2 separate regions of the Homo sapiens genome follow, and region 2 is linked to region 1. Evidence: promoter capture Hi-C in human tissues and cell types (Jung and others, 2019). All regions are on one chromosome and are shown on one strand. Each heading gives the region's core, a stretch centred on a gene start or on the middle of the fragment in contact. The rest is flanking DNA. Distances are from core to core; before and after follow the strand shown. Region 1 holds the start of PDE6C (phosphodiesterase 6C). Region 2 has its middle 35 kb from the start of PLCE1.

What was found. Contacts are between HindIII fragments. The study calls those that stand out against the background at their distance.
Region 2: a fragment that was not itself captured here is called in contact with the fragment with the promoter of PDE6C in region 1 in 2 of the 25 tissues and cell types used here (mesenchymal stem cells and thymus).

What each region holds. Positions count from the first base shown.
Region 1 is chr10:93,610,033-93,616,403 of GRCh38, forward strand. PDE6C (phosphodiesterase 6C) reads left to right here and starts at 2,505. Exons shown (of 22, transcript NM_006204.4): 1 at 2,505-3,173. The coding sequence starts at 2,694. The HindIII fragment of the contact is 13,972 bases long and covers 1,810-6,371 here.
Region 2 is chr10:93,955,852-93,961,485 of GRCh38, forward strand. It overlaps the pseudogene PIPSL. Among named protein-coding and RNA genes, the nearest start is that of PLCE1, 35 kb to the right of the region's middle. The HindIII fragment of the contact is 3,706 bases long and covers 684-4,389 here.

The sequences.
Region 1 (6,371 bases), core at 1,255-3,754:
GTTGCAGTAAGCCAAGATCGCGCCTGGGCAATAGAGGGAGACTCCATCTCAAAAAAACAAAAAAGAAAGAAAGAATGAACAAATGAATGAATCTCTAACTAGTTATAAAAACAAAAGAATGCTGACTATAATAGGATGTTTCTTTTTCAAATTAATATTCACTTTTATAAGATTATGAAAGATGGGCCGGGCACGGTGGCTCATACCTGTAATCCCAGCACTTTGGGAGGCCGAGGCGGGTGGATCACGAGGTCAGGAGATCAAGATCATCCTGGCTAACACAGTGAAACCCCGTCTCTACTAAAAATACAAAAAATTAGCCGGGCATGGTGGCAGGAGCCTGTAGTCCCAGCTACTCGGGAGGCTGAGGCAGGAGAATGGCATGAACCCAGGAGGCAGAGGTTGCAGTGAGCCGAGATCGCACCACTGCACTCTAGCCTGGGCAATAGAGCAAGACTCTGTCTCAAAAAAAAAAAAAAAAAGATTATGAAAGTTGAACATATATGGGCATTTTGTTTTTTCTTTTTCTATTAAGTATAAGTCTGTATATGAAATGCAAATATGTGTTTTTCCCTCTCTGTTTCAAGAGGGAAGGATGAAACCAGGAAATCGTGAGCACACCACATACTTACAGGAGAAGTAGGAACTGTACCATGAGTCACACAAAATAACTAGGTAAAAAAGAGTGTCCAAAATTGTTAGATAAGGAAGATGGTCCCATAGGAGGGGTGACTCAGTTGACTCAACTCTCTCCTGGGAAATACACTTCTGCATTATCCTATTTATAATAACAGGGTGTTATGAAGTAAATAGTCACCCAAAGAGGAACCTCCTGAGAGTAGAGTTGAGTGTGACATAGGACAGTCCAAGAAAATATGTGCACCTGACAAGGTGCTTTGAGGTAGCAGGTGAAGCTCAATCACAAGAAGTGGCATAACTCAACAAATGACTCTTTCTGTACCCCTGGGAAAACCATGTTTCCCACCAAGAATCTCTCAATTCATGACAGGGAATGTGCAACCTCAACGGATCTCTCTTTCTTTTGTGACTATTAAGATTACTATCTCTCAGGCTGACACAGGTGGATCACCTGAGGTTGGGAGTTCAAGACTAGCCTGGCCAACATGGTGAAACCCCATCTCTACCAAAAATACAAAAATTAGCTGGGCGTGGTGGCACCCACCTGTAGTCCCAGCTACTCGGGAGGCTGAGGCAGGAGAATCACTTGAACCTAGGAGACGGAGGTTGCAGTGAGCTGAGATCGCACCACTGCACTCCAGCCTGGCAATAGAGCGAGACTCAGTCTCAAAAAAAAAAAAAAAAAAAAAGAAAAAGATTACTATCTAGAGAGGTAAATCTTAGAGAACTCAATGAAACTCATAGGGTTTCTATTTTTGAAGCAAACTTAAATGTGGGTGTAACAATAATTTTTAGAGTCACTGTAACATGTGTGTGTTTTCCACTTAAGAGAATTTGTCATATTAGGTTTGTAGCTTTATTGAAGTGTTTAAAACACCTTGACTAAGTTTGAAACCAACATTTAAGTATCGAAGGCAATTGGTTCATGAATTAATAGTTTGAATTATTAGTTGCATAATAGTGTTTAAATATTTGAGGAAATGTGTTTAATAGATGTAAAAGCTTAGTAAAGTGAACATTAAACAAAACTAAGTAGTGGTAAGTGTTCTTTCTATGCCAGTAGCCCCTGAGACGTTAAGGATCCTAGCAACAGACAAGATATCTATCATCTAGTAGATTTAGTAGACTGTATGTTGTAGCAAAATCGCATGACCTCTGGCTATTACTATTGAAAACAAAATCCTAACTAAGATACTTAGCAGAAAAACCCAGCCAGCAACTATGTAGGTTACCTTTTGTAATTACAGTCTCTCGACAAGGGTTATTATTCAATTCATGACTTGATTAGGTTTGGATCATTGGCAAATATTTTGCTATGTTCACCTCTTTAGTAATAAGCTTGAGGTTTACTCCTTTAAAACACTTCTGAGGTCAAGCTTTCTGAAGTGACAGGGATTGAGAGGTGAAGGTTCTAGAGAAAGAGGAGGCCAAGCAACCTTGGTGATCAAAAGACTTTTAAGAAAAGGAAAGATTAATATTCACCTTTATGTTGCAGTGATGCAAACTGTTCCATATCTCCCAGATGTTCATTACAGTTGCTATATAAACAAAAAAAATCCAAGCACTTCCGAGGTCTAAATAGTTTTACTTCCTATAGCTATCATACAAGAACGATTCAAAGTGCCAATTGTTGCCAATGTCGTGTCATTCATGGATATGTCAGTGATTCTTCCTTGCTGTGGACAGCAGCCGACATTCAGTTATTTTTCTGGAATAGACACCTCAGCTTGCTACTTGCTGGGCTGATCTAAGATACTCTGAAGATTCGCTAGGGACTTATGAGCTACTAATGCTCAGGGATTTAGTGTCCTGAAGAACTCTTTAATCCTGTGCTTCCTGAATCCCACCCTAAGCCAGGGCCTTCTGTCACATCCCAAGAGTTACAGGCAGTTTGAAAGCTCTGCTTTCTGCTTGACCTTTGGAAGTCCTATGAGGGACCATTTACGGTTTCCTCAGTAATTTCCACCAGGATGAATTTCCTTCTCATCACTCTGCCTCAGGTAGTGCTCTGAAGGTCGTCCTTTCTGAACAAACGCAGCAAAGCAAGCCACACCATGGGTGAGATCAACCAAGTTGCCGTGGAGAAATACCTGGAGGAGAACCCTCAGTTTGCCAAGGAGTACTTTGACAGGAAGTTGCGGGTGGAGGTGCTGGGAGAAATCTTCAAGAACAGCCAGGTGCCAGTCCAGTCCAGCATGTCCTTCTCTGAGCTGACCCAGGTGGAGGAGTCAGCCCTGTGCTTGGAGCTGCTGTGGACCGTGCAGGAGGAGGGGGGCACCCCAGAGCAGGGGGTTCACAGGGCCCTGCAGAGGCTGGCCCACCTGCTCCAGGCTGACCGCTGCAGCATGTTCCTGTGCCGGTCCCGGAACGGCATACCTGAGGTGGCCTCTAGGTTGCTGGATGTCACCCCCACCTCCAAGTTTGAGGACAACCTGGTGGGCCCTGACAAAGAAGTTGTGTTTCCATTGGACATTGGGATAGTGGGTTGGGCTGCTCACACGAAGAAAACTCATAATGTCCCAGATGTGAAAAAGGTAGGTGGCCTTATGACAGTGGGGCAGAGGTCTTGGCAGGGTCAGGGAGGAACAAATGGGAAAGAGAGATAGTGCTATCCTTGTGGCATTAGTTTGGCAATAACCGGGGGAATGTGGGTGGCAGGGAAGAGGATCACCCAGGCCTAGTGTTGCCAAATTTAGCAAATGAAATTTCAAGTTGCCCAGTTGAACTTGAATTTCAGATAAACAATGAATTATTATTTTCTGAAGTATAAGTATGTCCCATGTAAAGTTTGGCATTTTATCAGGTGATCCTACCTGGCCCTGGTGCATTCCACACACCCTCCCTTACGCCTCCTCCAGTGCTCTGGGGGACTTTCCTTCTCAGCAACACCAGCAAAACAAACTACCCCACTAGGGAGATGGGCCAACGTGCCCAGATGCCAAGACTTGTGAACTGCTCCCCATGCCTCTCATTCACAGTCCTTCGAAAACATTCAGGTTTTTTGGATGGATTTGCTAGTAAATCAATTCTTTCATCTATCGACCAAATGTGCAAAGAGAAAAAATGATGCCATTTGAAAGTTCAGATGTTCAAATTTGGAATTCATTACATATGTGAATTTAGGTGATGGTTAAGTGCAATTGACCACTCCCACTGCTCCATAACCCAGATCTTTCAAGAATGAATTCCAATCAAGTAAGTGGGACATTTGGACCCTCTTGAAGACCAACAGCATACTGCACAAATACAAGGCATTGAGATGCCCCTTATAGAAATAGAAAAACTTTATTCTTACCATTAGAGTACATGTTCATTTTTAAACAATTATAAGATACAAATAAACCAGAGGAGGAAATGCTAATCACCCATCATCCCTCCCCTCAGCAATAATCAAGGGTACCAGCTTGGAGATTCTCCTGGCAGCTCCTTCTCTACACATGTGGTCCATTATTACAGTTTACCATTAACAAAAAGGGAAAAGTGGATTATGATGGAACAGAGTTGAATGGGAACAACTTGTGAAATGCTTTCTGTGCAGGGGTGTATAGGGCAGCTGGAGAGGCAGGAGGATAATCTCCTAAATGCCTCCTGAAGCTGATTATAGGGGGAGGGTCACACGGACCCAAGAGGTGTGGAAGTCATCAAACACGAGTGACTCTCTGCAAACAACCACAGAACACCGCTCAGGTGCAAGGGTTACCATGGGGCCTGGTAGGGCTTCAGTCCTGAATAATTCCTCCTTTCAGTAAGTTTAAGCTGGGTTAAGTTTGCTTTTGAGCCTGACTGCAGCTGCTTCAAGTGTCTAAATGGATGCTCATCCTTAGGGCAAAGTTCTCTAGACAACCAACTGGAAGGCAATGTCTGCACATCCTGAGGTTTTTCTCATGGGAATACGCTCCTTGAGGGTCCCCAACTGAGCCCATCCCTGCTAGCACATCAAACTTGAAAAAGTGACATTCAGCAATTTTTTGAAAGGCTTTTAAAGAAGAGATGGGTAAAATGATTTCTGCTGTTATACTTTGATTAGCCCAGTTCTCTGTGGTGAGAAGGAAATAAGAGCATGGAGCTGCTTGGAGGTGGTTTTGGTCTGCGGCTGTCCATGGTGAGCATCACGGCATGGACGGAGCACTTCATCTGGGAGTGGGGAGTCTCTCCTCTCTTCTCTGGAGGACTCCTGGCTGTTCTGGGTGGGACACAGAGAAATGTGTGTTGAAGACAGATACGGTTCTGTGCTCACGAGAAAGAGACCTCATTGGTTCTTCATTTCAACTGCTTCTTCACATTTTTTTCTCTCTAGAGTGGGGATTCCAACTCTGGCTGTACATTAAAACCATATTAAGCTGTGTGCAGTGGCTCACGCCTGTAATCCCAGCATTTTGGGAGGCCACGGCGGGTGGATGGCTTAAGCCCAGGAGTTCGAGACCAGGCTGGCCAACATGGGAAACCCCCGTCTCTACCAAAAATACAAAAATAAGCCAGGCATGGTGGTGTGTGCCTGGAGTCCCAGCTACTTGGAAGGTTGAGATGGGAGGATGGCCTGAGTCTGGGAGGCCAAGGCTGCAGTGAGCTGTGTTCACACACTGCACTCCAGCCTGGGTGACAGAATGAAACCCTGTCTCAAAAAATAAACACAATCCACAAAACCATATTGGTGGCTTTATTGTTACAGCGGACTCTCAAAGATTAGAATTCAGGCATTAGTATTTTTATTTTATTATTTATTTATTTTTGAGACAGTCTTGCTCCATCACCCAGGCTGGAGTGCGATGGCGCTATCTTGGCTCACTGCAACCTCTGCCTCCCGGGTTCAAGCAATTATCCTGCCTCAGCATCCTGAGTAGCTGGGACTACAGAGGTGCGCCACTATGCCTGGCTAATTTTTGTATTTTTAGTAGAAACGGGGTTTCACCATGTTGGCCAGGCTGGTACTGAACTCCTGACCTCAGGTGATCCACCTGTCTCGGACTTTCAAAGTGCTGGGATTACAGGCGTGAGCCACTGCGCCCGGCCCAGGCATTGGTATTTTTAAAAAGCTCCCCCAGCTACTTCTAATATGCAGCCAATGTTGAAAACCACTGGTCTCTTGGGTAAGCAGATACAGGAGGAGGAAGTGAATTTCAAATCAGCTGTGGAATATTAGAGATGGAAGGGGCTTATGAAGTCTTTAGCCCAACTCTGTCCTATGGAGGACAGGAAGTTGAGGCCATAGGAGTTGTATATCCCCCGGGTCCATGGTGTGTGTCTGTGGATGAGGAGGGTTGGAACGGAGGTGGCTGAGTATGTGTCCAGTGCTGTTTGCCTACCTTACACCCCTGCAGTTTCACTTGCTTTAGCCGCTGCAGTAAGATTTGCAACGGGAAAGGAAGTAGAAACCAATGTTTCAAATGAAATATCTGATTAATTCTTCCTCTTTTCATTGCACTTGACAATTTAAACAACATTCTCTGACAAGGGTCATATTTTTATTTCCAGCCTGTGTAGTAGGAATCGTTCAAAGTTAGGTAGACAGGAAGTGGCAGATCTGGGGCAATAACTCAGGTCTTGGAGGCCTCCCTCTTTCTACCATATCCCTGACCACACACAACTTTCCTCTGGCTAGCAGTGTGGGCGCAGGTGAGGGAAAGACTTCTCACACCTAGACAAAGGTACAGAACTACATACTCCCAACCTTGGAGGGTCCATGAAGGTAACAGGGAAGCCACTAGTATAGGGAGAGGGCTGTGGCATCAGAC
Region 2 (5,634 bases), core at 1,287-3,786, 350 kb after region 1:
TGGAGGTTATATGCTAGAATTTCCTCTCATAAATAGAGAAATATGAGAGAGATGTTGTCTAATTCACTTTTCCCCACAGTTGTTGGCTTTGGGTCATTCATTCTGTTATACGTTTCTTGTAGGTGCAGTGACTACATGTATGAAATAAGCCTGCATGAGTGTTATATCAAGATAAAAGGGTCATATATGTGCCATAATTGGTCATCGAATGGCTTGACACTGATGTGTTAGAACAGTTCAACACCAATTGTTAAATATTAGGAAATTTTGTGAGCCAATCATGGAGCATTTACCCAATGGAAGTCAGTAAATACGACACACCAGGGGTTCCCCTCACTCCCACCCAAGCCAGTTTACCAGCACCCTGCTGACTTGAGGTGGGAGGAACAGTGGAGGGAGGTTGCTATTTACCACCTTACAAATGTTGGAAACCACAAATTGAGATTTCTCTGTACCGGCAGAGAATACCAAAGATTATGCCAACGTCTCTGGTTACTTTGGATTTGATTTATAAATAGAATTTTACTAAAGCTGGGACAATAAGGCTGCATTTAAGGGCATTTCTATCTTGCCAAACAAACATTGGGAGCTACAAAAGAAATCCAAAGTGTTCGCAGTGGATCGTTTAATTTACCTTCTGCTTAAAATAATGTATGGTGGCCACTATATTTATATAGTTGGAAAAAAAAGGAAAGTTAAGACTATAGATATATACTTTCTCTTTAAGAAAGAGAAATCATTTTTGACATATATTTTTGGAAAAGCAGGCACTAAACTGATGATCTCTTAGGAGAGTGGAGATGGGATTAATGGGAATGTTTATTCTCTTAATGTCCAAATTTTCTTTGTTGCTTTTTTTTAAAAAGTGGTGTTTAATTTTCTTTTTTCTTTTCTTTCTTTCTTTCTTTCTTTCTTTCTTTCTTTCTTTCTTTCTTTCTTTCTTTCTTTCTTTCTTTCTTTTTTTTGAGACACGGTCTTGGCAAGATCACAGTTCACCACAGCCTCCATCTGCCAGGCTCAAGTGATCCTCCCACCTCAGCCTCCCAAGTAGCTGGGACTACAGGCTCATGCCACGATGTCCAACTATTTTTTTTTACTTTTGGTAGAGATAAGGTCTCACCATGTTGCCCAGGTTGGTTTCAAACTCCTGAGCTCAAGCGATCCTCCAGCCTCAGTCTCCCTAAGTGCTGAGATTACAGGCATGAGCCACTGCACCAGCCAGCATTTAAGATTCTTATAACTAAATAGTACTTTTAAAAGAAAGAAAAGGACCAAATAATATCAGATAAATGTGGTCATACTGACCACTTGGTAATGGCCTGTTCAAGGCTGAAAACTTCTCCAATCGATCATTTCCATTCTTATTCGTCTAGTCTCAACCTATTTTCATTTCTTAATTGACTTGATTTTTCTTCAAAGATTAAATGCATTTGTTTCTTGTTGAACTCAGAATTTTCAGTTATTGTGCTTGTTTCAAAATGCTTTAAAATTAGTTCCTGCATTGTATTGAGAGACATATCAACTGAACTCTAAGGACTGGTGAGGTCTTGCAAGCCCACCACTGCTTTCATTTGTTTGCAAACCCCATGGGACTCCTATTTCCAAGTGCTGGCAGTAGACAGAGCTGGCAAAATTTTGTTCTGACAGACTACTTTATTCTTGTCAAGGAAAGTTTGTCAGTGGAAACTATGTCAGTAGAGGAGCTTCTGGAGAATTCCAGCATCAGGGGCACTGGGTTGTTATTTCTGGCTTGGCTGTAGAATGAACCCTGGGACTATAGGCAAGTCACTTAATCTTTTAAAGTCTCACCTGAAAATAAGAATAATACCATGATTCTGTGACTCAAAGATACACATTTTCCCTGCATTTTATTATTCCTGAAATGGAATGTGTCTAAATAAACTTGCCAGCTTCCAGGCCCAGTATGGATACCCCAGTATGAGATATAAGTAACATTTGTGAATGTAGGTGAACTTGGAGGGCTACATAGAAGGTATCTGCTTATTTGATATCACATGGGATGAGTGATTTGCATTGATAGCAGCACACATGTTTATTTGCATTTCATGTTAAATAAATCAAAATTTACATTTATTCTGATCAAAGCAAATCTTTGTCTCTGGAGGACTGAATAAATATTTTCCTATTAACAAGCAACAGCCTCTAATAACTGTTATTAAATTGTCATCCTCAACTGATGACATATTATAATCAAGGAAAAGGGAAAATAATACCAGCAGGCTAATGTTGAAGATTCAATAAGATTAAGCTCATAAAATGCTTAGCATAGTGCCTGGTGCATAGGACGCACTCAAGAAATATTGTCATCATTGTCATCATCATCATCACCACCATACTTTATAACATATTACTCAACAATTGCTTTCCATAGCCATATTTCATTCACAACCCCTGTGTAAGGAAGGCCGTAAAGTCTGATGCACCCAGAGACATTGGACAAGTCACTTAGTCTGAATAGTGGTTCTCAACTTTTGCTGAATTTCAGAATTACCTTGTGAGCTTTTGAAAAATATCAGTACCTGAGTCCCAGGCCAATTAAATTAGAATCTTTAGGGGTTGGGTCCAAGTATTTGAAATGTTATTAAAGCTTCCTGGTGATTTTAATGTGAATTATTTTATGTTAGTGGTTCTCAACCTTAGCTGCACATGAGAGATCACACAGCTCAGATGAAGCTCATCAGCATTTCAAGGGGTCAGATTTAGGCATCAGGATTTCTTTTCTTTTCTTTTCTTTTCTTTCTTTCTTTCTTTCTTTCTTTCTTTCTTTCTTTCTTTCTTTCTTTCTTTCTTTCTTTTTTTTTTGAAGCAAAGAAGGAAAAAATCTTGCCAAGCTTTATTTAGGCTATAATGATTACAGATAACACACATCTAACCCTATATTCCGTGCTTCCCATGCAGTCCCCTGAGCAGGCTCAGCTACCCTTTCCCTCCAGTCTCACTTCTTGTCTTCCTCCTTCTTGTCCTTCTTGCTGTCCTTGGTGGCCTGGGAGGCCAGGGAGCCCACAGCATTTCGAATGGCTTCATTGTTGGGATCCACACCTGGGAGGTTCTCTAGGACACTCTGAAGGAACTCAGGGTCTTGCATCACGTCGTAATCATCCTCCTCCTTGGCTGGCTCAGATGTGTCCATGGCTGAGCTGGCATCAATGTCTGCTGATTCTGCCAGGCCAAACTCTGCTCCCTGCAGGGACATCTGCATGGCACAAACAATCTTCTCTTCCTCAGTCATACTGCTTAGGTCAGGAAGCCCAGTGTGGCCAAACTCTTGCTGGCTGATGGTCATCTTCAGCAGGGCATCGTCTGAGTCTTCAGTCCCAGTCGTAGCAATCCCGGCCTCAGCAGCAGAAGCTGCAGCTGCCTGCCGGGCCTCCTCCTCCTGCCGCTGCCGCTGCTCTTCCATAAATACACGAAGGACCAAGGCCAGCTCAGGATCAGCACTGGGATCTACTCCAAATTCAAAGTCACTGGCACCAAGACCCATCATGGCACCACCTTCACCAGCCAAAATCGGAAAACTGATGAGAGCATCAGCCAAACTGGGCCCAGGAGGCACTGTCACCAGATGAGAACCGGTTCCATCTTTGCCATTCAACGTGTTTACAAAGGCTGTCAGCTTTTCTGTGTTCACCTCCTCTTCCCCAAAATTGATAATGTCAACATTTACTTTCTCCTTCTTGAGGCATTTAGCCAGTTTCACCAGATTCTTCTCATTGTCCTCCACCGGGTTTCCCACAAAGGCAATGATGCGGATCTTGTGATTGTTGCCTTGTCGGTGCTTCAGAGCCAGATGGGCCACGTGGATGCCCATGCAGAAGGTGATCTTGCCCTTGGGTTGGACAGTATGTAGCTTGGACAGGATACGGCCAGTGTCTGGGGTGAGTGTGGTCAGCACTTCACAGTCATTATCCAGTGTGATAAGGCCCACGTTGTTCTCAGGGTTGCTGCGGGTCTTTGAATGACAAACTGTGTTGACAGCATCCTGCTGGGCCTGCAGCCGGGTGGGTAAGAAGTCTCCATTCCCCATATACTCACTGTTGTCCACACTTGTAGTTAGCATTTGCAAAGTCTCTTCAACTAGAGGTGAGAAACTGGGGTCAGGAGTAGGTGAGCCCTCACTGATTTCCTCCAAAGGTGGAGTCTGAGGTAAAACATCAGGACAACCAAGGTGAACACCTGGCTCCACTTCCGCCTTTGTTGTCACTTGTGCCTTGTGTTCCCCAGAGACCAATGGCTGGTAAGTAATGCAGGAGTTGCCACTGGAGCCTGCTCGCTGAGAGAAAGATGAGCCAGACCGAAGTTTTTTGGAAGGAGAAGGCTTCAAGGGAATCTTCTTAAATACCGTGTTGCACATGAAGCGCTGGAACCATTCAGCATAGAAGCCTGGGCGATGCACTGAGACAGTGTCTCCGTCATGTATCAGGGCTTTCCAAGAGTGCTCCAACTTCTTAACAAACCTGTAAGACTGTAGAATGTCAATGATGCCAATATAAAGCAGAAGCCTTTCCCCTTTACTATTCCGGGCAGGGATGCCACCCATATGGTCATCGGTCTCCATGGTGCCACCCCGTCGAGCCTCTCCCTGGATGGATTCCATGGCTGTGGAATACAGAGCCTTTTGGGGGGCTGGTCTTCGAGTATCAACTGAGTATTGTGTTTCGCTGCTTAAGGGCTCTCGTTGTGCATGATCTATATTATGGATTGACATCAAGAGGCTATAATCCATTATCTTGAAGCTCTGCAGCACCAAACAGTCACGCTGCAGGGTCTTACAGAGAGCGTTGTGCACGTCAGCATCCAAAAAAAGACCATCAGGGATGTCTTGTAAGAAGTCTAGGTCTTTAAATGTGGGAAGAGGCTTCTCTCGCTCTTTCTGGGAAGCCCGCCGCCTGTAGGTTGAGCCTTTGAGGTCATATTTGATATGCATTTTTACCGATCTTGGTAAAAGATTGTTCATCACCACAATCCGAATGTTCTTGCCACCTGTCTGCACACAGTACAGTCCATAGAATTTAGGCAGCAAAGTCCGAGGGTTCTGGTTGAGGTTTATGTAGTATCCTGGAAGCAGCTTCTGCAGAAACTCCGCTTCTTTATGTCGGACTGTCTTAACAATGAACTCATCGTCGCTGGACACATAGAACAGGGAACCACTAGCTCCAGAGCTACAGAGTTCAATCAGCGGCTCACTGCAGAGGGAATACAAGTAATCATCGGGCCGGATACCAAATAGCTCCCAGAAGTAGCGGAAGGCAACAGGTGCATAGGTCTTGAAACGAAAGGCATTGTAGTGATGAGCAGGGGTCAGGTTGCTCCCTTCACTGGGAAAGAAGATACTCTCCACCATGTGGAAATCTTGCATGAGGACATCACTCTCTGGTTTGGTACTCAGGCTCCCCACAGTGTGGGTAATGCCTAACTGGATGGCACCTTTCAAGGCTGATGAGGTTGTCCCTCCTGAGGAATCAACACTTCTATGGCCTATTTTCTTGATGGGCATGCCAGAGGCATAAGGCACCTCAGATGCCATGGGACTCTTGATTCCAGATGCTGAGGACGAGGTACAGGAAGGGACCGCGGGATCAACGGAGAAAAACCGACCGAAGACAACGGCCCGGA